Regions from separate parts of the Homo sapiens genome. Here all the other regions are linked to region 5. The links are contacts of gene promoters, found by promoter capture Hi-C in blood cells and fetal thymus (Javierre and others, 2016). All regions are on one chromosome and are shown on one strand. Each heading gives the region's core, a stretch centred on a gene start or on the middle of the fragment in contact. The rest is flanking DNA. Distances are from core to core; before and after follow the strand shown.

The links. The method cuts DNA at HindIII sites, captures the fragments that hold promoters and counts their contacts. A CHiCAGO score of 5 or more calls a contact.
Region 1: a contact is called between a fragment that was not itself captured here and the fragment with the promoter of ATP6V1B1-AS1 in region 5, in 5 of 17 cell types (M2 macrophages, M0 macrophages, M1 macrophages and 2 more). The highest score is 13.8, in M2 macrophages.
Region 2: a contact is called between a fragment that was not itself captured here and the fragment with the promoter of ATP6V1B1-AS1 in region 5, in 1 of 17 cell types (M2 macrophages). The highest score is 5.5, in M2 macrophages.
Region 3: a fragment that was not itself captured here is called in contact with the fragment with the promoter of ATP6V1B1-AS1 in region 5 in 1 of 17 cell types (M1 macrophages); the score reaches 5.8 in M1 macrophages.
Region 4: a contact is called between a fragment that was not itself captured here and the fragment with the promoter of ATP6V1B1-AS1 in region 5, in 2 of 17 cell types (M2 macrophages and M1 macrophages). The highest score is 6.4, in M2 macrophages.

What each region holds. Positions count from the first base shown.
Region 1 is chr2:70,774,999-70,780,682 of GRCh38, forward strand. FIGLA (folliculogenesis specific bHLH transcription factor) reads right to left here. Exons shown (of 5, transcript NM_001004311.3): 4 at 2,639-2,673; 5 at 2,312-2,384. The coding sequence ends at 2,369. Among named protein-coding and RNA genes, the nearest start is that of ADD2, 9.6 kb to the left of the region's middle. The HindIII fragment of the contact is 3,173 bases long and covers 306-3,478 here.
Region 2 is chr2:70,692,508-70,697,864 of GRCh38, forward strand. ADD2 (adducin 2) reads right to left here. Exons shown (of 16, transcript NM_001617.4): 5 at 3,738-3,889; 6 at 3,214-3,294; 7 at 1-45. Among named protein-coding and RNA genes, the nearest start is that of ADD2, 73 kb to the right of the region's middle. The HindIII fragment of the contact is 1,888 bases long and covers 2,287-4,174 here.
Region 3 is chr2:70,739,736-70,745,032 of GRCh38, forward strand. The region is part of intron 1 of ADD2 (adducin 2); the gene reads right to left. Among named protein-coding and RNA genes, the nearest start is that of ADD2, 26 kb to the right of the region's middle. RefSeq lists an enhancer at 4,894-5,297. The HindIII fragment of the contact is 703 bases long and covers 1,743-2,445 here.
Region 4 is chr2:70,758,873-70,764,302 of GRCh38, forward strand. All of the region lies in intron 1 of ADD2 (adducin 2), which reads right to left. Among named protein-coding and RNA genes, the nearest start is that of ADD2, 6.6 kb to the right of the region's middle. The HindIII fragment of the contact is 2,998 bases long and covers 371-3,368 here.
Region 5 is chr2:70,944,500-70,950,391 of GRCh38, forward strand. It overlaps ATP6V1B1-AS1 (ATP6V1B1 antisense RNA 1), which reads right to left and starts at 4,112. Exons shown (of 2, transcript NR_110274.1): 1 at 3,728-4,112. All of the region lies in intron 2 of ATP6V1B1 (ATPase H+ transporting V1 subunit B1), which reads left to right. The HindIII fragment of the contact is 10,354 bases long and covers 1-5,892 here.

The DNA of each region.
Region 1 (5,684 bases), core at 642-3,141, 170 kb before region 5:
GTGGATCACTTGAGGCCAGAAGTTCAAGACCAGCCTGGCGGACATGATGAGACCCTATCTGTACTAAAAACACAAAAATTAGCTGGGCATGGTGGTGCATACCTGTAATTCCAGCTACTCAAGAGGCCGAGGCATTAGAATCGCTTGAACCCAGGAGGTGGAGGTTGCAGAGAGCCAAGACTGTGCCACTGCACTCCAACCTGGGTGATAGAGACTCTGTCTTAAAAAGAAAAAAAAAAAAAAAGGAACCAGAACTTGGGGACTTGGAAAATTTCTTAACCTATCCATATTGCAAAAATTAAGAAAGCTTACTCTGAAGAGATCACTAAGGGTGTGGCTGAGCAACCATTTGATAACAGATCATGAGTGTGACTCATATACTTAATTAGCCATCTCAGCTGAAGCCAGGAATACCGACGGGATTATACCAGAAAGACCCTGATAGCTGGAAAGAAAGGGGACAGAGAAAATGGGAAAGAATGAAGGTAAGCTGTCAGCCTTCTCAGATTCTATAGGACTAGACCATATCACTATTTGGCTACAAACATGCACTATTTAAGCAAAGGAAAGAAATGACCCCAAAGGCAACTCAGAGATCAGGGTGGCCACTCAGTGTGTGTGTGTATGTTTTGGAGGAGGGGGCACAGGCAGGAGAAGAGCTGAGTTCCTCCTCAGTTTCCGAGGGAAGGTCACCCTGCCAAGCCACAAGGATGACACTGCATCAAAGCAAAGAGGATTTATTCTTGAGGCTTAAGATATAATGGAATTTGCCTCAATAGGTTTTGGACTTGCTTGGGACCCATTAACACTTTGTTTCCTATTTTTCCTTTTTGGAATAGGAATGTCAATCCTACACCTGTCTCACCATTGTGCTTGGGACGCACATAACTTGTCTGGTTTCAGAGGTTCACAGCTGGAGAAAGATAGGAATCATAGCTCAAGTCTCACCCATACCTGATTTAGAAGATATTTAAATGAGACTTTGTACTTTAAAGTGAGAATGAGTTTAGATTCTGGGGGCTGCTGGGGTGGAATGCATATATTTTGCATGTGATAAAATGAATTTGGGGGAAGGGCTAGGGACAGAATGCTATGAACAGCATATGTTCACCCAAAATTCATATATTGAGAGCCTAACCCCCAATAAGGCTGTATTTGGAGACAGGGTCTCTAGGAGATATTAAGATTACATGAAGTCATCAGGATGGAGCCCTAATCCAATAGGATTGGTGCCCTTATAAGAAGAAGGGAAACCAAAGCTAGCTATCTCTCTGCCATATGAGGACACAGTGACAAGGCAGTCATCTGCAAGCCAGGAAGAAAGCCCTCATCAGAAACTGAACAATGCCAGACCATAATCTTGGACTTTCCAGCCTCTAGAACTATAAGAAATAAATCTCCGTTGTTAAGCCACCCAGTCTATGGTATTTGTTAAGGCAGGCTAAGCTAATTATACTTTCTGTACCTTGGTTTTCCCATCTGTGAAATGGGGATACTTATGCCATTATCTTACGCTTGTTGTAAGAACAAGTTAACACATGGAAAGCATAGAGAACAGAATCCAGCATATAATAAGTACTATGTCTTTGTGAGCAATGGTTATAAAGACGAAGTCTTTGTGCTCAAGGTGTTTGGCTGTCTACCTTGCACAAAAGGTGCCATTTGGCCTTAGCTGGGTATCTAGAAACCCTTGAAAACTCTCACTCCCCTTGGCCAATGTTTACAACTCTTTTAGCTTAAGTCTTCATTTCTATTAAGGTTAATTTCTATTGGAAGGGTAACAGTCACTTATTTCTCAAAGCAATGAAAAAAAGATGTAGGTCCCCAGAGGATGACAGTGAGTTGGAAGCAAAGGATGAAGCCCCTGAAGCCTATTTCTTCAAAGCATGAAGTTAAGGAGAAGGCAGAGTGGAGTAAACTTGAGAGAGGCAAGGCTATTTAAAAGGGTAATTGTTAAACTCGGAATTACTACAAAACTTCTTTTTTAAAAAAGAGACTCCCACGGGGCACAGTGGCTCATTCCTGTAATCCCAGCACTTTGGGAGGCTGAGGTGGTTGAATCACCTGAGGTCGGGAGTTCGAGACCAGCCTGACCAACGTGGAGAAGCCCTGTCTCTACTAAAAATACAAAAATTAGCTGGGCGTGGTGGCGCATGCCTGTAATCCCAGCTACTCAGGAGGCTGAGGCAGGAGAATCACTTGAACCCAGGAGGCGGAGGTTGCAGTGAGCCGAGATCACACCGTGCCACTCCAGCCTGGGTGATAAGAGTGAAACTCTATCTCAAAAAAAAAAAAAAAAGAGAGACTCCAAAACTTTCAAGACTGCATTTATTTGTCTCTAGAAGGTAACCCTGGGCCTTTTCATTTTTCATACTTGTGGAAGTCTGAAACAGAGAAAACATTCCATTATAAATAGTTAAAAATAAGAACCGTTTACAAAAGAAATAAAGAAATATGCAAAAAATTAATTTTATTAGTAATCAAAGATGTTTAAATTTAAAGATACTACTTTTTTACCCATTAAGATTCCTTCTTTTAATAGAGCTCATTGCTAAGAATGTGATGGAATTAGCACTCTTATTATACAGCCAGTGGTGTTATAAATTGGCACTATGCATCAGGTTATAGAATGACCTACCTGTGACTCAGCAGTTCTACTTCTGGGAATCTATCCTGCAAAAACAATACAAAATACAGAAAGGGCTAAACACATCGGTTATTTGTCACGTTTAAGAGAACAAAAAACTGAGAACATAGTGGCCAACAGTAAAAAAATTGTCCCACCTAATGGGTCACATAAACATGCCAGTGATAGAAAAATCAAGAACAGGCACACAATGTTATGTACCTGATGATAATTTTTTATTTTAGTTGCAAAGGAAAAGAAATGGGAAGGATTTTAGTGTATTTCCATCAGTGGTTTTACTAACGTGGCAAGATCATTTTGTCTCTGCTCAATTTTCTGAAACTCTCAACTTGAAGAAAAAATAAACCCATGACTGAAAAATAAAGCCGCTCAAGTCATGGTCAGGCATTTTGGATACTGAAACCTATTATGTACATCACTGTGGATGGTAAAGCACCGCAATCAAATGCTTTAACTTAGCCTTAAACATTTATCTATTTTCTAGTCCACCCTCCTTTACATTTCAAAGTTGAGTTTTGTTAGAACGAAAGTGGTTAAAAAGGACTTAACACTATCACCCACATCCCCCCCAACCCCAACACTTCACTGACTTGCAGGTATTGGGCAAGTTACTTCTGTTCCTTAGTTTCCTCACATGTAAAATGGATATAATTGTTTGTATAGCACAGGGTGGTTGTGAAAATTAAATAGGTTAATATGTATACACTGCCAGGAGCAGTCTCTGACACAAAATATGTATGAGTAGCTTTTTTTTTCTAATCTTGATCGAGTCTTTCCACTATACAAGTGATCAACATTTCTTTCTTTTTATAGTTCAGACCTAGCTTTGGAAGCTTTATTTTTAAAATAAATTTTAATTTTTTTCATATTTAGAATTTTTTATACTTGAGACAAATTCATATAAATTTACCTGAAGGATTAAAGGATGACAATATTCTGCCTATAGTCTACTGCATTTTAGAACATTTATTTTAGTTTGTTTTTAAGAATTAGCTGGAAAATTTCAGAAACGTAATATTTAAGTATGAGAATAGAAAAACTTGCCAAAGTTTATAAATGTTGTCTTTATTGTCACAGCTCATTAAAAATTGGCTGTTGGTCTCATCTAAGCCAAAGAGTTTAAGGTCCAAGAAGAGGGTAGTCTGGAGAATAGAAACCCAGTTTGCTGCTTAATATCTTTAAGAAGGCAGGCACACTCCAATTGTTGGCAGTGTGGCTGCAGAATTTGACGTATTATCCAATGTACATTCCTCCACCCACTGAGCCAGGCTTGGTGAGGGAGATGGGGTAAACAGAAATCCTTGCTCACTCAGCTTTAGAGTTCAGTCCCTGTTCCTATGATAATCTGAAAAGCAAGGCTCTTTCCAAAATCCCAGAGAACCACAAGCATAGGCACCATCACAGCACCAGCCCCTAAATCCCCAAAGTATAGAGAGCACAGTAAAATCCCAGGGCTATAAATGCAGTCGCCGGAGCAGCTTTTCCTCTGAGCCACTGTGCCTTTAGACCAGGGCAGAAAATCCCAACACCTTACCAGGTGAAATATGCTACTCTGGTGCAGGAAGGAGTGGGGAGGACTGGGACAAACCAGAAGGCACCCACCCCATTAAATGGGAAACAACTTTGGAAAATGCTGGGCTGACTAATCTCATCAGAATATGCCCCATGGGCTATTGGTGAACCCCAGGGCAGATGACTGTGCTTCTCAAGCAAAGCGAGACCCATCACTTACTGTGGTAGAAGTTTTACCATCGTATAGAGCCACTACCTGGGGGAATGTGAGGTGGAAGACAGAAGAAAGAGGCTTCAGGTCTTTCCCAAGGTGCTAATGAATTCATCCCAACTAGCCAAACCGTCTCATTTCAGAGCTTAAAATGCTATAGGAAGAAATGTCCCCAGTGAGTAATTTCACAGATTACCGCAACTTGGAACAGGGGTGGTAGGAGTCTACCATCCACACAGGATTCTTTCTCTCAGAAACTCTTTCAAGGAACATTCCCATGACATGCCAGAGTTTGGAAATATATACTGGCAGCATACCAAGGCCCCTGTAACAGATACTATGTCTCTCCATATGTCCCTTTCCAAAGGCCCTCAAGCCCCAGCACTCTTGGCATCTCACTCCAAAATTGAGGGTGGTCTTTGTCTAGAGACATGGTCTCTACAGTGTCACTGGCAACTCTGAACAAAATTTAGAGCCATGCATAATATGAAATGCCAGAACCATAACCACGAGTGGCAAATAGAAGGAATATACAATGGCAAGACAGCGAACAGCCTGCCATCTAGCAATGCCAACCCCAATATGGCAAAAACCTACACTTTGAAGCTCTAATTTTAAACAGGCCTCTCCTGGACCTTGAAATTAATTTTTCTCCCTACCAACACCACATGCTGTGGCTTCTCATGGCTCACGGCCCTCTCTGTCTGCACGAATACTTGCCAATTCATTCCCCGAGTGAACTTCTGGGGCTCTGGCCCCAGACGTTAATCTCCATCCCTGTCATCAGCAGATTCTCATGCACTTCATTTGGGACTTTGCCTCCCAGGAATGTTGTTGATCTTGCACAGCCTGCTCTGACCCCATCTCCAAATCCCCCAAAACGCCCATCCCTGCCACTACCAGGATTTCATTCCCTGGGTCCTCATCAAGGGTAGGGAAAAGGGTGCCACTCCTGCAAACTGAAGCTGGAGAGGGCCTGCCTCCCAAATCTTAAGCTCCTCTGGATATGAGCATTTCTGTCCAATGAGTCACATTATCTGTCACTAGGTCTCTAGTCTGGACAGGATCCTGAAACCTTATGGAGTCACCGCTTCAGGAAAGCTGGGCTGAATCTTTACGAGGATCCTTTTGTCAAATAAAGGTCAGCCTGAGCATCACTTCCTTGGACCCTTTTTATCTTGAGCCCACCCTGGTTCCTGATTGTAAAATGCAAGCTTTTTATACAGTTAATAAAGGTGATATTGAATAATCGCTCAACTCACATATAATTAAAGATCTCAGAGATAAATGTTAACAAAGAGAAAACTAGCCAGA
Region 2 (5,357 bases), core at 1,981-4,480, 250 kb before region 5:
GCTGCTGCCCTTCTCCACCACCTCTCCCAGAATGTTCACCTTGATCTGCGCCAGGGAAGAAGAGAGACTTATGGCAACAGGGTGGCCGAGGCCCCGCACTCCTCTCCCAGCTGGTGGGCCCAGCATGTGCCGCCCACCTGTCTTCACACATTCCAGACACCATGAGCAATGACGGACTTGGTGTTGGAAGAAAACAAACCAGTTCCTGCCCTCAGTGAGTGCACAGTCTAACGGGACACAGACGATTATAATTCAGCAGGAGAAATGCGAGAGCAGAGTTTCTCAGACTTTGTTCACGTGAATCACCTGAAGCCCAGTCAAATGCAGGTTCTGATTCAGAGGCTGAGGGGGCCCTGAGAGCCTGCATTTCTAACAAGTTCTCAAGTGATCCACAGACCACACATGGGGTAGCAAAGTGCTAGAAAAGAGTCATGCACAGAATTCTCTAGACAGAGACAGGGGGAGTCTTTCATCCCATCAGAAAAGGAGCATCTGAGAGGCCTTCCAGGGGGAGTAATGTCTACACTGAGCCCTTTCTCAACGAGGCTCAAAGAGGCTGCGGCTGCTTTACCAGTGACAGCTCTAGCCTCACTCCGTGCCCCTACTCCCCTGCCTCCTGGATAAAAAGTAGTAAAATATTCAATCACAGAATGTCCTGTGTCCTGAAAGCCCACAATCCAAGGTAAACAGAACTCTCTCTCAAATCACTCAGCACAAATCCAAATCCTGAAGCCAGCCCCTCCCAGTACGCTCTCACTGAACACCTCCCCGATTTCCCGGAGTGCAATCTCCCGGCAGCTGGAAGTTAACCTAACTTCACTGACTGCAGTTGTTCCCTGGACATTAACAAGCCAGATGATAGTCTCTAAAACTCATGACAACTTTAGCCCTTAAAACTGAGACACCCGTGACATCCTGAATGTGGCACACAGGGCAGTTCCTCAACTTGCCCATCACCCCCACCCCAGAAAGTCCAGGCAGACAAGATGGGTATCAAAGCAGGGAGACAGACTCTAATGTGGGCGGAGGGATGTGCTGCTGGCGTTTGCTTACACAGAAGCATCAGGAAGATGTTCAACAAATCTCCACTTACAATATCCTATTTTAAGTGAATTTCACAGACTTCAAAGCAGCGTGACCCCTAAAAGCTGCAGCAACTCTCCCGCCTCAGGTACTTTAAACCCAAGTGTGGAGTGCTGCCCTCTGGTTTCCCTCAGCCCAGCTCCCCCACTTCCTCAGACATGTGGCCTGTTTAGAATTCCCTCTCTCAGATGATCTCTCTCTGATCTTACATATTTTATATCTCATTGTTGGATGTGTGATCTGTTGTCATTCAAGAACCTCCACAGCCTAATACAGCAGCCACCCTCCCATACGGTGCCTTTGTACAAATGAGAAAGCAGGTACCCCCTCTTGAGGACAGCCCAGGGACATAGGGCTTGGTGTGTGGGTATTGCCTTTGTGCAAATTCAAAACAGAAGCCCAATGCTAGGACACTTAGTGAGTGGAGCACAGGTTGGATTTCACCCTCTCTTCTCTTCCTCATTAGCCAGGCTCCCTTGTGCAGTGCACAAACTGCACAACCACACACAGCAGCCCTATGTCTACACACAATTCATAAACATCTCATGCCCATGACTCAAACCTGTATCTCTAGCCTGCATCTCTTCTGAACCTAGAATAACCAAATGCCAACTGACATCTCTTGAAAGTCCCACCAGCTTCTCAAACTCAATCCCATATTCCCAATCCAACTGATCAGCAGGCCTACTAAGCATAGAGGCCCGGAATTTCCTTCCCAGCTTGCTGTAATAACCCCACCTAGGTGTCGGTTGGCCTCTACACAGCTTTCAGAGTGATCTTTCTACAACAGAAATCTGCTTGCATTACTCCCCTGCTCGCATTTCAGTGGCTCTGAGTGTCCAGCAGAATAAAGCCAAAGCACCATAACAGGATCTTCCATGCCATTTATCACCTGGACCCGATCCCCTTCCCAAGGTCACCTCCAGATACTGAATACTTGAGCCAGACTTGGCCTGTCTTCCCAAATGCATGCACAGGGCTCTGGTATGCATCTGGGTTTGATGCATGCTGCACTCCTGCTAAGGACACAGTCACCTCTGCCAAACCTCTCCTTGCCACCATGATCTAAGTCTGCTTACCCCGCTGGTTCATATCCCACTGACTCCACTCCTGCACCATGGTTTCAGCTAGACGCCTCCTCCCTCATTCCCTCTTTCTCCTACAGCTCCTGGCGGGGTAGGGTGCCCCTTTCCAGGCTCCCCAAGCTTCCTTCACCTCTACTGGAACACTCGGTAACCCTGAGCTTTCATAGCTGATTACCTCGCCTCTCTCCTCCAACCAGACCATGAACACCTTACGGACAGAGCCTGTGTCATCCTTTTCTCTGTGGTCCCAACTCTGACTTGGCCATCATCTCCTTGGGTAGCCTTGTGCAAGCTGCTTACCCTCCCTGGGCACCAGTTTCCTTTCTTACCTCTCAAGTGGCCTTGGCCATGGTAGAAGTCCTGCCCTGCCTAGATATTCTATGACTTGCTGAGCCTGGACTTTTGAGTGAGTAGCCGCGCTCTACACCTGAGCATGTCTCAAGCCTGGCAGAAGCCCCCAAGGTAGTGTCCTCCTCTCCGAGGTACATGGCATAGCAGCCACAGCCCATGTATCTGAGAAGGATTGGGCCTTTTCTGCTTCTAAGACAGTCCTTTCTACTGCTTTCCTCCCCCCATCTGGAAATATTTCCTGAACTAAAGCAACTTTTGCAAGCCTCTACCTCATCTAAAAGGAGCAACACTGAAAAGGGACCCAGAAGCATCTCTAATGGTGCCAGTGCTGGACAAATCTCGTGCTGCTTTGGGTCTTATTCTAATGTATCCCCCTAACCAGAAAGGCCCCCCATTCCCAACCATTGTGGTCTAATCCCAGGTGTAGCCATCCCATGAGTCTGCTGAGAGGATGCCAGGCCCATCTCCACTCCCTCCTCCCTCCCACTGCACTTGCCACCTCCTCCTGGCAATTGGTCTCTTGGTCGCATCATGCTCTGGACACTTAGTTTGTTCCATGTGTCTTCTCTGCCCTATCAGATTGTGAGCTCCACAGCGCAACAGTGACCAATTTGGAGATGACCTAGCACTGTGGGAACAGAGAGAGTGCTGTCATTTCAATAAGGAGTGGGCAGTGATGCTGGACTGTACTCACCAGGCTGGACGCTGTGACTTCACTGCAAGAAACTCCCTTAGGGCTGATCAGGAAGTGGTCCTGCTCCTTGCTGACTCTCAACTGGAGGAAAGACACAAGTTCTCAGGGGCAAGGAGGGAGAAAGGACATTTCCAAGGACACTGTGCTTGAATCCCCTCTTCCCCTGAATCTACTGCACCCAAGTCCATCTCTAATGAACCCTTATCTCTCCCCCCCAGCCATAAGAGATAAAAAGAACTCAGCTTTTATTTGGAGCAGGAGAAAGGGAGCTACAAAAGGAAACTCACTATGATCAAGGGTAGCTCTAGGATAGGATCCAGGAGTTCCTTCCCATCCAAAAAAGTGCCCACTGGGCAGGATGCCTTATCAATGACCACAGTGGTTAAAAAACTTGGAAGGGTTCAGTGCATTTTAGCCAAAGGTCACCAGCAGTGCCATGGCCATGCCAAGGGTCAGGAGTTCTCCCTTTGGGTTTTGTGGGACCACATGCAGTGCCCCACCCAATTCCAGGGCGTTCTGCTCACCGTGACATAGGTGTCACTCAGCTGGGCCCAGCCATAGAGGTCCAGGAGTCGGTAGACACTGCTGATCTTGCACCGCATGAGCCGCTCCCCTTTGGCCAGGTTCAGGGAGTCAGCTGTGTGGAGGTCATTGATAGGCGTCATCATGGAGACATCTGCAGGGACAGTGCAGTTCTCTCAGGGCCAGGGCCCATCTGCCCTCCCCTTCCTTGCTCCAGTGTTCTCCAAATTCTCACTGGCACTAAAACTGCACAGGAGACTTCCCCAGGCAGGGAATTAAACATTCTTTGACCCTTACCTGGGGCAGGAGTCCACAGAATCGACGTCTGTGCCCAATAAAGTCTGCTCATTCAGATAAACTTTTGCTCAAAAATCATGGCAAGTCTCAAGGCCACAGAATGAAGGGTTCTGGGAATGCCACACAGGTTCTGGGAATGCCAAGCTTACCATAAACTCTGAAGATGGGCACTGAATCAAAGCAAGAATAAACCTCTGAGTGGAAACATGGGTATATTTCATCAGTTATTATTAATGAAGAAGTTACTCGTCATTAAACCAGCTATTACATTGTTTTAACGACACCATGTAATCACATTTTCTGTGATTTAGAAACAGGGAAAATAGAAAGCCAGATCAGAGCTGGGTGCGGTGGCTCACACCTGTAATCCCAGCATTTTGGGAGGTCGAGGCGGGCGGATCACAAGGTCGAGAGATCAAGACCATCCTGGCCAACACAGTGAAACCCCGTCTCTACTAAAAATACAAAAATTAGCTGGGTGTGGTGGCACGCGCCTGTAATACCAGCTACTCAGGAGGCTGAGGCAGGAGAATCGTTTGAACCTGGGAGGTGGAGGTTGCAGTGCACCACTGCACGCCAGCCTGGGGACAGAGCGAGACTCCGTCCCCCACACCCTCCCAAAAAAAGAAAGCCAGATCAGCCTGAAAGTAACTTCCTCAAGTTTTTCTAACAAGTCATAAACTTCTGGAAGTGAGTGCAGCTGTGGCTGGCTGAAAGGCCAGAGGCCTCAGGCAGGGTACCTAGGCTCCTCTCTGGGCATGCAGTCCCTTAGCTATACGGTGGTTCTTTCTGGGAATTTGAGGGGATGTGGAAGGGATTTGGAAATGGGCCTAGAGGGTTTGATAGTCTTGTCCTCAGGGCATGCAAGGGTCTAGGATATGACATCCAGTCTATCCCGTTAACCATGATGACCACTGCCTACATGCCTCAGGAAGGGAGCAGAGGGCATCTGAGCTCTAGCATCTGAATCAGCATCTAGGAACTAATAAGAGAATCAATAGGAAAGGTTCTGGCTTAAAATGGTGTCTGGCTGGGAGCCTCCTGATGCTGCCTCTCCCAGCTCCCACCAAAGATTTTAATGGATCAGGATGCTCTTTGGAAGCTTTTACCACCTCTGTGAAACTTGCTGCAGTACGATGTATATCCTGCATCGAGTGTGCCATTAGTGGAAGTGATGACGTGGTCTACAAAAGCGAGGGCGGACGATGTATGTCCTGCATCGAGTGTGCCATTAGTGGAAGTGATGATGTGGTCTACAAAAAGCGAGGGCAGACTGGGTGCTGGGCCAACATCCAGCGAGCAGAGTAGGCCTTGAATCACCCATG
Region 3 (5,297 bases), core at 844-3,343, 210 kb before region 5:
TGGAGGCCATTATCCTTAGCAAACTAACACAGGAACAGAAAACCAAATACTGCATGTTCTCACTTATAAGTGGGAGCTACAGGATGAGAACACATGGACACAAAGAAAGGAACAGCAAACACTGGGGCCTACTTGAGGGTGGAGAGTGGGAGAAGGGAGAGATCAGAAAAAATAACTACTGCATACTAGGCCTAGTACCTGCATGGTGGAATAATCTGCACAATAAATCCCCGTGACACAAGTTTACCTACGTCACAAACCTGCACATGTACCCCTGAACCTAAAATAAAAGTTAAAAAACTAAAATAGATAATAAAATAATTAGATCAATAAATATGCACCAGGAAAAAATAAACAAACTATGGCTTATGATATTTATATCAGAGACAATAAAAGTTAAGGTTAAAAGCTCTAAGTGATTCAAAATATTTTTATATTTGAAAAAAGTAAACCCCATAATGAAAGTATCCTATTGAACAATTATGTACTAAATAACATAGCACTGGACTATATATGTAAAGCAAAAACTGTTGAGAATCAGTAAGAAAATAACAGGATCATAATAATAATGGATTACTTTAATATGCTTTTCAGTCCTTGACAAAGAGGCTTAAAAAAGAGGATAGGAGAATACAAGAAACCTGAATCGGTTGACTAATTAGACTTAAAGGTATCCCTCCTCACTATCCACAATCTCACAATACAAACAGAAACCTAATAGATTTGGGTGGCAAAAATTACATTATAGTAAGCAATTTCACTGCAAGCATGCAGAGCAGAGTAAAATGCTGGTTAAAAACAAAACACCTCAGCTAACAATTTCTTCATTCTAGGAGAAGCATCATTTATCCTCAGGGAGATGGCAGAGTTTTTGTTGTCTTGTTTTTTGTGGGGATTTTTTTGTTTGTTTGTTTGCTTTTTGTTGTTTTTGTGTGTGTGTCTAAGAAATTTTTTATTTTTATTTTTATTTATTTATTTTTTTGAGACAGGGTCTCACTCTGTTACCCAGGCTGGAGTACACTGGCACAATCACAGCTCACTGCAACCTCCGCCTCCCGGCTTCAAGTGATTCTCCCACCCCAACCTCCCGAGTAGCTGAGCGTACAGGCGTGTGCCACTATGCCTGGCTAATTTTTATATTTTTAGTAGAGACGGGGTTTCACCATGTTGGCCAGGCTGGTCTCAAACTCCTGGCCTCAAGTGATCCACCTGCCTTCGCCTCCCAGAGTGCTGGGATTATAGGCATGAGCCACCGTGCCCGGCCTTGGTCTAAGAAATTTTTTGATGGGTCCTTTAAAATGTGAAAAGTGAGTTCCTGCTCCTTTGTCAAATTTCACAAATCTTGATGTGGGAGAGGATGATTTAAAAAAAGAAATGATAAATTGCCCTGCAGAGAAAGTTACCAAATATCAGCAGTGGGAAAATAATGGGAGACGGAAAGAGAGTCAGGAGCATCAAGACAAGAACACGGCAAAGAACAGTAGCTTATAGAAAGAAACAGCCAGTGAGAAACTCCCTGTAACAGTGAATGATCAATAAATTTTGAGAATTACTGACATCTGACATTGAATTTAAAAGTTGTTTACAGCCTTACACTATAATTACCTTCTGATATGCCCAATCCTTTGATTAAGAGTCTGATGTGCAGAAGAGCTTCGTGTTAGTGGTGCTCTGGGAGAATAAAGGAGAAAGGACAGTGAGAGCAAATGTATTAACGAAGAGGGCAGCTCCTTTGGGAGGCAAGCTTTTAAGTGTGATGGATGCTATTGTTCACCAGTATATGTTTCCTCTCTACTTTGGCGTACAGGAGAAGATGACATTTCCCCACCACATTCCAGGTCAGCATTCCCATACGTATTTTTCTAGTCAATAAAATATGAACAAACGTTCTTCTGGGAAGAAGCATGTTAAAGCCTTCCTCCTGCTGCAGTCACCAGCAATTTCCAGATGATGACAACTCCATCAGCTAAATCTCTGAGTAAGGAAGACATGGGACAGGACCCACACACACACTGAAACTCAATGGACATGCAACAGGAGCAAGAGATAAATTTCTGTTGTGTTCAGCCACTGAAATCATATGGTGTCTTGGTACTGCAGTATAGGTTGGCCTGTTGTGATCAGCAGCCTCGGTCACAATACCAGCTCCTCCCCCACACATCCCACCCAGCTGTGGGCTCCCAGGCAAATCCATTAACCAATTTTGACATTTCTCTAATCAATAATAAAATGAAGATGTTGGACTGGATTTGAAGTTTTCAAACTGTGTTCCAAGAACCTGGAAGTTTCCAAGAGGTACATCAGGGATTCTACAAGCATTTGATCCAATCTGTTTTAACTATTTAAAAGGCCATTATATACTACACCTTTAATATTCCTAATTCAAATACATCTGAGACTACCAATACCTTGTGCTAATTCTTCTTTTCCTTGACGTCAGAATAAAGCTTCCCTGCCTATGCAGATTTAAGAACTACCCAAAACATGTTTTTGGTTAAGAAAGTGCTATTTCTGAGCTAGTTATTTTTTAGAGAGTAAAACCCATTTGTGTCTGCTCACATGAAAATGTATAATCAAGTACATTACCAGAGAAAATATTCACTGGGCCCAGTGACACACCAGAAACAGCTCAGCTACATCTGCTTGGAATCAGCTCTTGACAAGGCAGAACTAAGTTGTAGGTGTTCTTAGCTAACTTTTAATATTTATACATATTATTTATTTTAGATGAAGTGAAATCATTTCCCTTAAAAAAAGAAATGGACTGCTGGTTGAAGAACAGGAATTCTAAAAGAAAATATGACGATATCTGCAATCAAAGTGATGGAGCTCAAGGTGAAACATCAAGTCAGGCTCAACTGGTACCTATTGATTCTTCAACTCTTGTTGCCTATAGAACAACAGTGAATGAAATAAGAGGAATGCCGCAAAGAAAACAAAGTACTGTAGCCATTATCTGTCTTTGGGGCTGACCTTTTAGGGCAATACAATCCACTCAAGTCCTTGATGTGCTCTGTATGTATAAATCTGGCAAAAGAGTTCTATGTTCCCTGCCATAGAACACCATTTGAACAGCACCTAGGGAGCCTACAAATGAGGTCCCTGGCTATACTTACATACATCTTAATGTTATGTTTTTTTAAGTTATGTGATATTTAAGTTTGTCAATGTATGTTTAACTTTGCCCATGAGGGAAAAATATACACTCTCTTTGAAAATCTTATTAAATCCTATCCTATGGATCCTATGTTACAGATGTGTTAAGTGAGAATCTTGCTTCAAAAATATTAGTACTGCTGTTGCATAGCACAGTCCACTCAAGAATCCAAGACTGTATTTAATGAATTAGCTAAGGAGGTCAAAATTATCACAGCAAAGTCACATCTTATGATAGACTGGTCAGCGTCCATAGCCTGTCAGTACGGTCAATATTGGCTGGAGTCAAAATTATCATTGAACATCTCCTCAGTGGACATGAGGAATAGGGCATGGCTCTCCATGTATCACCCCACACAGTACTGTGCATGTGTAATTGGATAATACATACAGTAGCATATGACTCATAAAAGGACATGTGCAAAATATAATTTGGTTGTATTTTTACTCCACTTCTCTGAGAGCTGGATTACCATGAAAGAAATGTGAGCATAAGGCACCTCTGGTCGAAAGGAAAAGTTCAGCATTTCACAGAGGAAGAGGCAGCGTCTTATGGCTGTCTCCTCTCTCCAGGCTGCTTTGTATGTTACCACCAGTCAGGTAATTTATTAGGGACAATATCTGCTTCAAAACACTTAACAGTGGGAGAAGAAGAGAAGAAAATGCTCTTTCTTCTCAACAAGTGTGTAACATTTCAAAGAAGTTTGTAAAATTCTGAAATACTTGCCAGGTCTATTTAAAAATAAATCTGGTTTGAAAAACCTAGAGTAGAGGCTTCCTGGAAGCTGTGGCTATACTGTATTTAAAGTCATCAAGTCTTGTAAGGAAAAACAAGAGTCAACAATGAAATAGGAAGAAAAAAGTGTTCCAGGCCAGATTACTATAGCAGGTACAAAGGTCCTGTGGTAGATCAGAGCATACAGAGCATGAGGAATTAAAGGAAGGCCAGTGTGGCCAGAGCAGAGCTGAGAAGCCTAGAGGGGACAGCAGGGATGACACATGGCAGCCAAATCATGCTAGGTCATAGCCATCCAGTCAGCCATTTACTCATTTGTTCATCAATCAAATACTTATCTTCTATGTGTCAGACACTGTTCCTGGTGCCAGGGGAAATACAGGAGTAAACAGGCCAGGTAAGGAGCTTATTTTTAGTGTTTACATCCTAAATGGATAATACATCCTACACTCTTAAAACTCAGAGTAATAAGAACTATGACAAGAATTAAAATAGGGCAACATAGTCACCATTTGGTAACCACCATGGAAATAATTGGAATTGGCAAAATTTGAATAAACCCTATAGATTAGATAGTAGGATTGTACCAATGTTAATTGCCTGGTTTATGAAAGGTTTGTCGATGTTAATTGTCTAGTTTACAATTACCAAAAATTGTATTGGGCAATTATGTAACAGAATGTCTTTGTTTTCAGGAAACACACATTGAAGTATTTATTATAGCATGATATCTGCACTTCATTCAAACGGTTCTGAACTAAATTGTGTGTTATGTGTTTGTATAGCTGTATGTGTGGACAATACATACAGACATGCTGGGACAGGGAGAAAAAGGGAAAATGACCTCTGAAGAGGTGGAAGGCTGAGATATAAATGACATGAAAGGGCATTCCTAGTGCAGGGAACAGCTAATGTAAGGCTCGAAAGCTAGACAGCATTTGATGAGTTGAAGGAGCTGAAAGAAGTCCATTGTGGCTGAAGCTGAGTGGCAAAGGGTAAGGTCTATGAGATTCGAGCACAGAGGAATTCTGCCTTTTTTCTAAGAATAATGGGAAACATTAATGGGCTTTAAATGGAGGATAGCAAGGTCCCATTTTCATATTGAATGCTCACACTGAAAAATAGAATAGGGGATGGGTCACTAGTGGGCGTGTGGGGGTCAGTTAGAGGCAGCAGCAGATGTTCAGGTGGGGAAGACCGGGCTTGGAATCAGGGCCTGGGGGAGCTGGAGAACAGTGGATAGGCTTCGGATGTTTAGGAGACAAAAACAAACAAAACAAAACACAGGACTTGGTGGTGACTTGAATGTACCTCTAATTGTCTTCTTTCGAGCATTGGATCAGTTAATGGAACTGAACTTAAGATTTCAAGGTGAACGGCCGGGCACGGTGGCTCACGATTGTAA
Region 4 (5,430 bases), core at 620-3,119, 190 kb before region 5:
AAAGTAATCCAGAGTTTCAGCCAGGGGCAGTGTGGCCATATGAAACAGGAACCCAAGCAAAGTAGCCCAGGCAGAATGGAAGGCAACATCGACATGGAAACCAAAGTCTAGCCTGGACTCATGGAAACTACTAGAATTGTCATCAATTCAGGGAGCCATGGGGATGGGGTGAAGGATGTCAAATGGTCCTTAGAGCTGCTACTGATAGAAGCCACAGGGATTTACTACTTGGCTTAGAAAGTTTTTTTCAGCCACTTCACAGCTGGAAAAAAGGCACAGAGAAAACCATTCCAGGCATTAAATGGAGCACTGAAATTTGTATTCAGGTACCTAGATCCTAAGCTCCCTGGCCTCCAGATCCTGCCCTGGAAGCTTGCAGGATGAGGCCCTATGTTAGATCAAATACATTACAGGTATTTACTGCTGGGTGGAATAGCGTTTATTTACATACTTTTGTATCTTTATTTTTAGCTGCATCTGGTGAAGTGATCAGAATCAACCTTGTTTGAAGCTGGATATATTAAATCCCCACTTTACTGGGAGCTCCCTCAGCACATGTCTGAGGAACTGAGGGTGCTGTGGTTTGGATATTTGATCCCTCCAAAGCCCATGTTGAAGGAGGGGGTACCTGGTGGGAGGTGTTTGGGTCATGGTGGTGGATCCCTCATGAATGGCTTGGAGCCATTCTTGCAGTAGTGAGTGAGTTCTCACTCTTTTCATTCCCATGACAGCTGGTTGTTAAGAAGAGCCTGGCATCTCCTCCCCTCTCTCTTGCTTCCTCTCTTGCCATGTGATCTCTGCACACGCCAGCTCCCCTTTGCTTTCTGTCAGGAGTGGAAGTGGCCTGAGGCTTCCACAAGCTGCCCAGTCTTCCAGCCAGTAGAATCATGAGAAAAGTAAACCTTTTCTCTATAAATTACCCAGCCTTGGATATTCCTTCATAGCAACACAGGCAGACTAAGATGGGGATCTGCCACTCAAGGTGGCAGTGCTGATAGATTTCCCACGGCCCTTAGATTTATATCCCTCATCCCCACCCCACTGACCATACCACAGCCCATCTAGCCCTGTTTCATTGAGCCTGGGGATACTAGCACTCAGCTGAGAGGACACCACTGCTTCTTCCCAGGAAAGCCCCTTGTTGATACTCATGGGCTGGGTGATATTGGCTGGCACCATCTGTACTCTAACTTTTACAGAGTCCTTAAAGAATCTAGGCCCAGTGTTTGTTCTCTTCTCTAAAACTCAAATCGATGTTTTCCTTACTATATTTGTCTTTGGACACTTTGAAGAAAAGAAAGGCAAATATTTAGGTCCATGGTGCCATCTTGAAACCTACACGTGCGTGTTTATAACCCTGAACCTGCAACTCAGATCTCGGGTCCCAGCCATGACACATGCATACGTCTGCCTCTCTGCTGGCCATCCCCACCTCAAACTCGTCTTGTCTAAAACTGACCACTGTCTTACACAAACCACTTCCTTCTTGGCTGTGCTGGATTCCCCAATTTAGAGCACCAAGCAAAGTAGGGCTCCAAATATTCTTGGAATAAATTTGATATATATTTTTTGAAGCATCAAAGTAGTCACCATGGAGATGTTATAACAATGAATAAGATACAAATGGTACAGTTCTAATTTTTTAAAGTTTCAGAGAAACAAGTCTGATGTACTTTGTTTGAGGATGCAAATTTAGATTATAAAATTATAAAAGCAAGCAAGAAAATGGTTACCATAAAAGGAAGGTGAGTTGTTACCTCCAGGGGGAAGCAGGGTGTGGTTCAAGGGTGCACTGGGCTCTGGGAGCTGGCTGTGTCCTGCTTCTTGACCTGCATGGTGGTCACACGGGCATTCACTTTATAATATTTCACTAAACTGCACATTTGTTTCATGTCCTTTCCTATATCTGTGTTATGTTTTATATATTTTAAGGTTTTTTTAAATAAAGTAGTCATTACAAGGGAAAGAAACAAAACTTTTGTGGACTTTCATAGTTATTTTGATAAAGTTGGCCACAACTTATCTTCCATCATACAAAATGCCAGAAGACAAAAGAATAATATTTGGAGTTTTTAGGTAAAAAGATTAAGATGAAGAAGTGTATGCCCCAAAAGGATGATGTTACTGTGAAACAGCAACATAAAGAAGTTCTTAGGCAAGCAAGAACTACCGGAATATACTATCTTTCCTGAAAAAGATTCCAACTAATCAAGGAATAAGTAAAAATGAAGATTGAGCATAGGAAATGGACTGAGTATTGTAACCTATGTAACTCTCAGTCTAGATAGCAGCTGTTAGTATGGTTAGGAAACATAAATGTCAAAAATAATTCTGGAAAGCAAAAGCATGCATTACTTTTTTTTTTTTTTAAAGACAATAATCTGGATCTAAAAGCCAAAATGTTTTTAAGGCAAAAAGTTAGTGGGGGTAGATGGGCAACAAAAAAGAAATTAAAGCTGGGCACAGTGGCTTACACCTGTAATCCCAGCACTTTGGGAGGCCGAGGTGGGTGGATCACCTGAGATCAGGAGTTTGAGACCTGCCTGGCCAACATGGTGAAACCTGGTCTCTACTAAAAATACAAAATTAGCCGGGCGTGGTGGCAGGTGCCTGTAATCCCAGCTACTCAGGAGGCTGAGGCACAAGAATCACTTGAACCCAGGAGACAGAGGTTGCAGTGAGATGAGATTGTACCACTGCACTCCAGCCTGGGTGACAGAAAAAAAAAAAAAAAAAAGGAAGGAAGGAAGGAATTAAAGTATACTAAATCTCTCATTATTTATGAAAGAACAAATAGACACAACTTTTTTTTTTTTTGAGACAGAGTATCGTTCTGTTGCTCAGGCTGGAGTGCAGTGGTGCAATCTCGGCTCACTGCAAGCTCTGCCTCCCGGGTTCATGCCATTCTCCTGCCTCAGCCTCCCGAGTAGCTGGGACTACAGGTGCCCGCCACCACGCCTGGCTAATTTTTTGTATTTTTAGTACAGACGGGGTTTCACCATATTAGCCAGGATGGCCGATCTCCTGACCTCACGATCTACCCGCCCTGGCCTCCTGAAGTGCTGGGATTACAGGCGTGAGCCACCGCGCCTGGCCAACACAACTATATTTTTTAATGTTAATGAAGACTAGTAGAAAAAAATGGGCAGAAAATTTCCCTTTTATCTAAAGAACAAGGGACTCTTACACTACATTTAAGTTAAGAAAGGGGGTGGAAAAATAGCTTGGAATTTTTTTAATGTAAAATAAAATTTTAGAAGATCTGTGACTGTATCACATATAATAAATGTAAATTGAGTCACAATTGGATTAAAAATCCAATTATGATGCTTAAAATAGACAAAAATCAAAATGACGTAAAAGAAGAAAGCTTAAGAAGAAAGAGAATGAGCATCACACCAGGGAAATGGAAACAGAAAGAAGGCAGGACCAGATTTCTTATCACACAGTAAAATTTAAGACAAAAATAAAAATACAATGAGACAAAGCAGGTCTGGAAATATGGAAGATTCACCCCACAATGGAGAGTCAAGGGTCACAACATTTGTGTCACAGAGGATAACCAGTCATCCCCATTTGCCTGGCACTGTCCCAGCTTTAGCACTGAAAATCCCTCATCCCAGAAAACCCATCAGTCCTGGGCAATCAGGGCCCTGAGTAATACAGCATCAAATATAACTATGTAAAAACATATAAAATATACACAAATACATGTTTATATATATAATTACATAATTATATATCAAATAAATATATAAATATAACTATATTATATGGATTTAAAGGGCATGCTAAAGGACATAGCAAAAGGAAAGCGGTCAAAAATTTCATTTTCTTTTTTTTTTTTTTGGAGATGGAGTTTCATTCTTGTTGCCCAGGCTGGAGTGCAATGGTGTGATCTCGGCTCACTGCAACCTCCGCCTCCCGGGTTCAAGCAATTCTCCTGCCACAGCCTCTGGAATAGCTGGGATTAGAGGCGCCCACCACCACACCCAGCTAATTTTTGTATTTTTAGTAGAGACGAGGTTTCACCATGTTGGCCAGGCTGGTCTGGAACTCCTGACCTCAGGTGATCCACCTGCCTCGGCCTCCCAAAGTGCTGGGATTACAGGCGTGAGCCACCACACCCAGCCAAAAATATCATTTGAGACTAACATCTTTTGTATTCTTTGACAGATCACTTAGGTACAAAGAAAAGTTTAAAATAAATTTGAATAACATAATCAATAAACTCATTTAAATCTATACAACTGAAGTTTAGACTCCACAGAGGATACACTTTCTCTTCATCTCTTTCAGTAACATTGGCAAAGCTTTCCTATGTAGTTTATCTTGGAAGACAGACCGGGATGAAATCTTTACTAAAAGCCTGCCATTCCATGAGTGCTCTTCGAGTTTGGAAGATTTGGTGGTGGTTGTCATTGAAGACAGGCAGTTTTTCATATTATTGCTTTAAAATTCTTTCAGGCTAAAATTGTAGCAGCCAATGTATGTGGAGTCAAATATTGTGGCTGCAATCTCTTCTAAAGATTCAAATTTCTATTCCAAGAATCTGTGTGTGTCCCTGTACATAGTTCAAAATGCTTAAACTATATAAACATCCCTTTTGGCAGAAAAAATTTCTCATGACCTCATGGTTGACCTAAGTCACTTTTATTAAAATGTAACTTAAATATGTATACTCATAAATACCAGTTCTAAACACCTATGCTTTACAGCTTTTATATTATTAAAATGCCAAAACAATGTACAAATACAACTATCCACTTTAAAATATCAAAGTAATAAAATTAATTTATTGCAATAGGTAAGTCTTTCACATGTAACAACTCATTCTTATAATATCACCATGCAATCAATGCCATATATTTATTCCTATATTATTATAGGAAATTGAGCAGGAGAGAGGTTGAATAACTTGCCTAAACTCTCACAGCTAGTAAGTAGAAAAATAATTTTTGAAGTCAGACAGTCTGGTGTCACTTAACCATCAGAACAAATTACCCATCTCATTTTCTTTTCTTTTTTTTTTTGAGTTGGAGTCTCGCTCTGTTGCCCAGGCTGGAGTGCAGTGGTGTGATCTCGGCTCACTGCAACCTCTGCCTCCAGGATTCAAGTGATTCTCCTGCCTCAGCCTCCCGAGTAGCTGAGATTACAGTTGCCCACCACCATGCTCAGCTAATTTTTGTATTTTTAGTAGAGATGGGGTTTCACTATGTTGGTCATGCTGGTCTCGAACTCCTGACCTCAGGTGATCCACCTGCCTCGGCCTCCCAAAGTGCTGGAATTACAGGCGTGAGCCACCGCGCCCGGCCCCATCTCATTTTCTTAGATGTAAGGTACCTATTGGAGAGTTACTAAATATGCATTAAATGAAGATCTAATTCAAATATTGTTAAAATCCACAACAGCAACTTTTCTGTTGTGTTT
Region 5 (5,892 bases), core at 2,862-5,361:
CCCATGTCTGTAGCTCCCTCCCACCCCACTGCTACCTTGTGATGGCGATGGCCTTGGGCTCCCAGCCTGGCACCCTCCTATCCTGTCTCCATCCTCCAGCCCTTCAGACCTGACCCTTGCATCAAATTTGCCCAGGGCTCTCCAGTGCCCTCAGCTTACAGGTCTTTTCTTTTTTTTTTTTTTTTTTGAGACGGAGTCTCACTCTGTCCCCCAGGCTGGAGTGCAGTGGCGCAATCTCGGCTCACTGCAAGCTCCGCCCTCCAGGTTCACGCTATTCTCCTGCCTCAGCCTCCCGAGTAGCTGGGACTACAGGCACCCGCTACCACGCCCAGCTGATTATTTGTTTTTTAGCAGAGACGGGGTTTCCCCGTGTTAGCCAGGATGGTCTCGATCTCTTGACCTGGTGATCCGCCCGCCTCGGCCTCCCAAAGTGCTGGGATTACAGGCGTGAGCCACCGTGCCCAGCTGCTTACAGGTCTTTTCTATGAGGGTGCCTGCAAGCCTTTCCACTCACTCTCATCACTCTCCCTTCCCTGTGTAGAAACCAACACCTGAAATAGTGTCTGCATGGGGCTGCCATTTGAGATCTCTGGGCACTTGCATGTCATTTTTTAAAAATGTGATCAGTAATGTATGTTTATTAACAAATTAAATTACGAGATGTCACCGCCAGTTTCACTGCTATAATTTTAAAGCAGTGATGAGCACAAATACTATTTTGAGATACCTGCAACGACTGTAATGTGGTATGAAAATATCTGTGATTTCTGATGGTAACAAAGTCACAGGTACCGTGGAAATGCTAATTCTACCGTGGTTTGTTCCTTACATTCAGAACTAGAGGAAACACTAAATTTGCGTAAACGTTAATGAATGTAAAAATGTAACTTTCCCATTCAAGATCACAGAAGCCCTGAGTTCTCTCTGTAGACTCTGAGATAGGTTCTAGGCAAAGAACCCTTCTCACAATTAGTTGGACAAGAGGATAGAGTATGTAGAAAGGAATGACAAAGAATGGGGGATTGTGTCTGTGCATTTTATAATAGACACACAATAATTGTACATATTCCTGAGGTACACAGTGATGTTTTGATACATATAATGCATAGTGATCAGGTCAGGGCAATTAGCATATCCATCATCTCCAGCATCCTTTCTTTGTGTTGGGAATATTAGTATCCTCTTTCTGGCTATTTGAAGAGATATATATATATATATATATATATATATATATATATATATAGTTGTTAACTACAGTCATCCTATTGTGGTATAGAACACTAGAACTTATTGCTCCTGGCTAGCTGTAATTTTGTGCACAGATTTTTCCCTCTGCCTCCTAGACTACACTTCCCCCTATTCCCTCCCTCTGACTCATCCCCAGGGTTGAGAGGTCACCTTCTCCTGGATGCCTCTCCCTCTTCTCTACTTTTTGTGGTTTTATTAGTGGCATCCACTGAGGTATTTGGTCAAGATCTGGCCATGTATCTCCTCCCTACCCTTCCCCACACACACCGTGCCCTGCTATTGGCCATGAACTGTGTTTTGTTCATCTTCAGCTCCAGAAGCCCAACACAGCATTTTTACTGAACACATAGGCTATAGTAGGTGCTCAGCATGTTTGCTCAAAGGAAAGGTGAGTACATTAATGAGATAAATGAATGAATAAATGTTAGCATGACTAGCTATGCACCTGTCAAAACCTGAGCCAACAATATTAAATAAATCAGACCCATTCTTTGCTAACAAACAGATTCTGAGTTCATACGGACATTACCACTTGACCCCCCAGTGTAAGGGACGCCCCAGGAGGAAGTGTGGCTGAGTAGTTAAGTGCAGCACACTGGGTTTGGATTTTAATCCCAGATCCATCCCACTCTTTTCTGCTAGCTACATGCCAACCCTAGATCAACAGCATTAGCACTGCCCAGGAACGTGTTAGAAATACAAATTCTTGGGCTCCACCTCAGACTGACAGAATCAGAAGCTCTGGGGGTAGGGCCCAGAAGTCTGTCCTCACAAGCCTTCCAGGTGAACTGATGCTCAAGTTAGAGAACCATCAATCTCGGATTGTAAATCCCAGTTTCCTCATCTATTAAATAATAATAGGATTATTGTGAGGTTCACATCAGACAAATGTAGTATTATTCTCCCTTGAGAATAGCCAGCAATGTTTCTGCCTGGAATGCAGAAATGCTAATAAGCCTGATTCAACAGTTGGTGCCACCTCCTGCCCCCTCTCCACCTCCACCACACTCTCCACCAGACCTGCCATTCTCCATGGGACCCAGTGTGGCATGGAGTCGGAACCTATACAGGTGTCCATTTTCTCCACTGTAAAATGAGGCCGATCTAGGAAACCAGAACTAGGTCCCCAGACCTGTGGTTTTGCGACTATCGGATGCATCTGTAGCTTTGGCAGAGAAAAATAATTGGGTGGTGGAGGCACCTCTCCCCATCCCTCTCCGTTGCCCCTACCCCTTTCCCTCTACCAGGATTTGGCAAATGCTACAATTCTGTTTCTACAGCGCCACCTTCTGCCCACATTGAATCACACAGGCAATTACTCTTCCTGCTTCCGTCCTCAAATGTAAGAACATTTGAGGGAAGAATTTTGTGTAGATCAGAGGTTCTTAGCCCAAGGAATTAGGCCCTTGAAATTGTGTGCAGACCTTTGAAGGTATGCATGAATGTGCCTGTGCATTTTTCTGGTAGGAGTTTCTACAGTTTCGTCTGATTTTTCAGGGTTCGTGACCCAGAAAAGTCTAACTCTCTGATTTGTATAAGTTGAACAAGCATCAGAATATCAGGGGTGCAGGGGGCTTGTTAACAGGCAGATTGCTAGGCCCCACCCCAGAGCTCTGATTCAGCATGCCTGGGGTAGGAGGCCCAAGAATGTACATTTCTATCAAGTTCCTAGGTGATGCTGCTGGTATGGGGACCACACGGAGAACCTCTGTTCTAGAGAATCTTCTGACTCCTGTAGTCTGTGATTCAAATTGGTCCCTGTTTGAGAATTGGAGTAAGCACTCACCTTAACCACCAGACTCCATCCCCAATGTCTGTGGCTGCTTTCAAAAGAGTCTGCATCAGCTCTGAAGACAATTTCCAAAGAGGAGCCTCCGCACTGCCCTGGCCATTGTCAGCAGGAGGGACCTTAGAGGCAGCATTCCTGTGCACAAATCCCGACAGGCTTGCTAAGAACTTCCAGTCCTCCGTGTGTAGACAGCAGCTCCCCTGTGCCTGGCCACTTGCTGGTTGAGAGCTCAGTTGAATCTCCAGCACGGGGTTACATTGCACTGAGTCATGCCCTCTTCCTGCAGCCCTCTTAGTAACCGACATCAACCGAGTTGATGGGATCAGGCCTGCTCAGTATGCGGCTGGGAAATAGGGCCCCTTAAGATACAAGCTCCTGGACTAGCTATCCCCCACGGGAATTCTCCCAGGTACCCACTGCCATAACTGGTCATGAGATCCCACCACCAACAACAATAACGACGAACATCCAGCACACACTTAGAGCCTGGGGCTCTTCCTAAAGGTTCCAGACACTACACCCTCCATGCCTGAGTGTGAAAACCTGATGGCCCTTCCCCAGATCTGACCACAATTTCTGCCATTTAAAGTTCATTTTCTCTGATTTTGTCCTTCAGGGACACAGAACGCACCACTCTCCTCTCCACTCTCCTCTCCTGCCACCCTCCCTCTCTCACCCACATAAACTCACATGAAAATGATCACTTTTTTTTTTTCTTTTTGAGACGGAGTCTTGCTCTGTCGCCAGGCTGAAGTGCAATGGCACGATCTCTGCTCACTGCATCCTTCTTCTCCCGGGTTCAAGCGATTTTCCTGCCTCAGCCTCCCGAGTAGCTAGGACTACAGAAAATGATCACTTTTAAATCACTCCACCGCCTGATTTCTTTGGGGCACACTCTGGCCTGTGTTCTGTACAGCAACTTTTCCCCTGAGGTTGAAACAGCCCTCCGTCACCTCCAGGGAGATGACAAATAATGAGGCAGGGCCCGTTTCGTATCGAAACACAGGTTATCAGAGTGGGAGAGGAAAACGAGCCGGGACGTGTGTTCCACGCGTTTCCCAGGCCCTCGCTGTCCGTGCTCCTGGGCTCCCTCTTGTGGTTGAGAACCCAAGACGCCTGGGTGTTCGGAGCTCCTCCCACCTCGGAGCCCTCCTCCCCGGCCGGCCTAGTGCTGAAGCCCCCACTCCGCAAGGCTGAGGGGTGGTTTGGGGAACCACAGGTCACCTTCCTGGCATCCTCTTCACAGGACAAGGGAGGACTCAAGGTAGCGCTCCCTTCCGTGTGATTGTCAGGGCTGCAAACCTAGTCTCAAGTTCGACCAGCAGGGGTTCCCTGGCGGAGTGGTCCCTACTTGGTCACACCTTGCTGGGGAATTGGACCCTCCGCCCCAACCCGCAAGCCCTTAAGGTCACTAGTTTGTGGCCAGTAGGTGATATAACGATAGTAATGATGATGATAATCACCAGCACTGTGCTGTAACATGTCCTAAAAATGTATTATATTTTAATTGCAAAAATAATACATGCTCCTTGTAACTTAGTGAAAAAGAGGAAAGACACGTAAAGTTAACTATCTGCCCCTAACCGCTTTATTCTCAGCCCCGAAAGACCCTGCTGAATACGCTCAAACACAGGCAAATATGTTAGAGGTTGACCTCGGGGTCAGTCCCTTGAGAGCCAAGGGACTGACAGTGGATCCACTGACAGTGTCAGCGGATACACATTTTACGCATTCTTTTGGATACTGGCATAGCAGGCGATAGTATGGATGTACTGTAACTTACTCAATAGTCCCATTATTGACAGACATTCGTATGTTCTCAGGTTTTGCCATTACAAATAGTACAATATTGTATCCCTTTTAAACGGACGCTTTTGTGGTTATAGGATAGATTCCCAGAAGTGGAATTGCTGGTTCAAGTACTTTTTTATTTCAAATTAGATATTGACAATTTGGGGCAAGATGGCTTGCCCAGAAGGGTTGTGGTAATTCACATTTCCACCAACCAGGTATGAGAGGACCCACTTCCCCACATCCTTGCTGGCCCTGAATATGTTCTCTCTGTAGTTTTACCTATCTAATAAATGAAAACTAGTACTGTCTCGCTTTTATTTACATTTCTCTGATAACTAGGAAAGTTGAGTGTCTGTCCATATGTTTACCATTTTGATTTTGCTTCCTTCTCCGTGAAATCTTCCTACCAAGCAAGTTGTGCATACGGGAGCTCCTTGTTTATTGCTCACAGGCTATCTTTTGCAACAATAAATGAAACAAAGATTTCATCTATTGTGTCTCTGCCATACAGAAGTTTGAAATACTCATATGATCAAATATTTTTTGTTTATACCTTCTGAATTTCTTGTCTTGCTTAAAGACATTGCTCATCTGTCTTTTAATTGGATTATTCAGAAAGATAGGAAAGAAGAAAAGCTCTTCCAGTATTTTTTAAAAATTGTTTTTACTTTATATTTAAATTTTTTTTACATGCCTGGAATGTATTTGGGTTTATGATGTGGTTATCTTCTAACTAGATATCCTCTTATGTTCTATATATTATTTCCCCTCTGAGAATTAATTAATATACAACATTTGTTCTATAATAGTCCTATAAAATCTGGGATCTCCTTCTGGACTTTTTTTCTTTCCTACTGATCCATTTGTCTACCTCATATCAATTTACTGCTTGACTTCAGTAGCTTTATAACAAGTTTTAATATCTGAAAAGGCAAGTCCTCTATCTCTGATCTTTTTCATAACTACTTTGGCTATTCTCAGACATTTATGTGAACTTTAAAATAATTTTATTAAATTTTAAAATAAACAATAATCCATTAGGGTTGGATCAAATTTATATA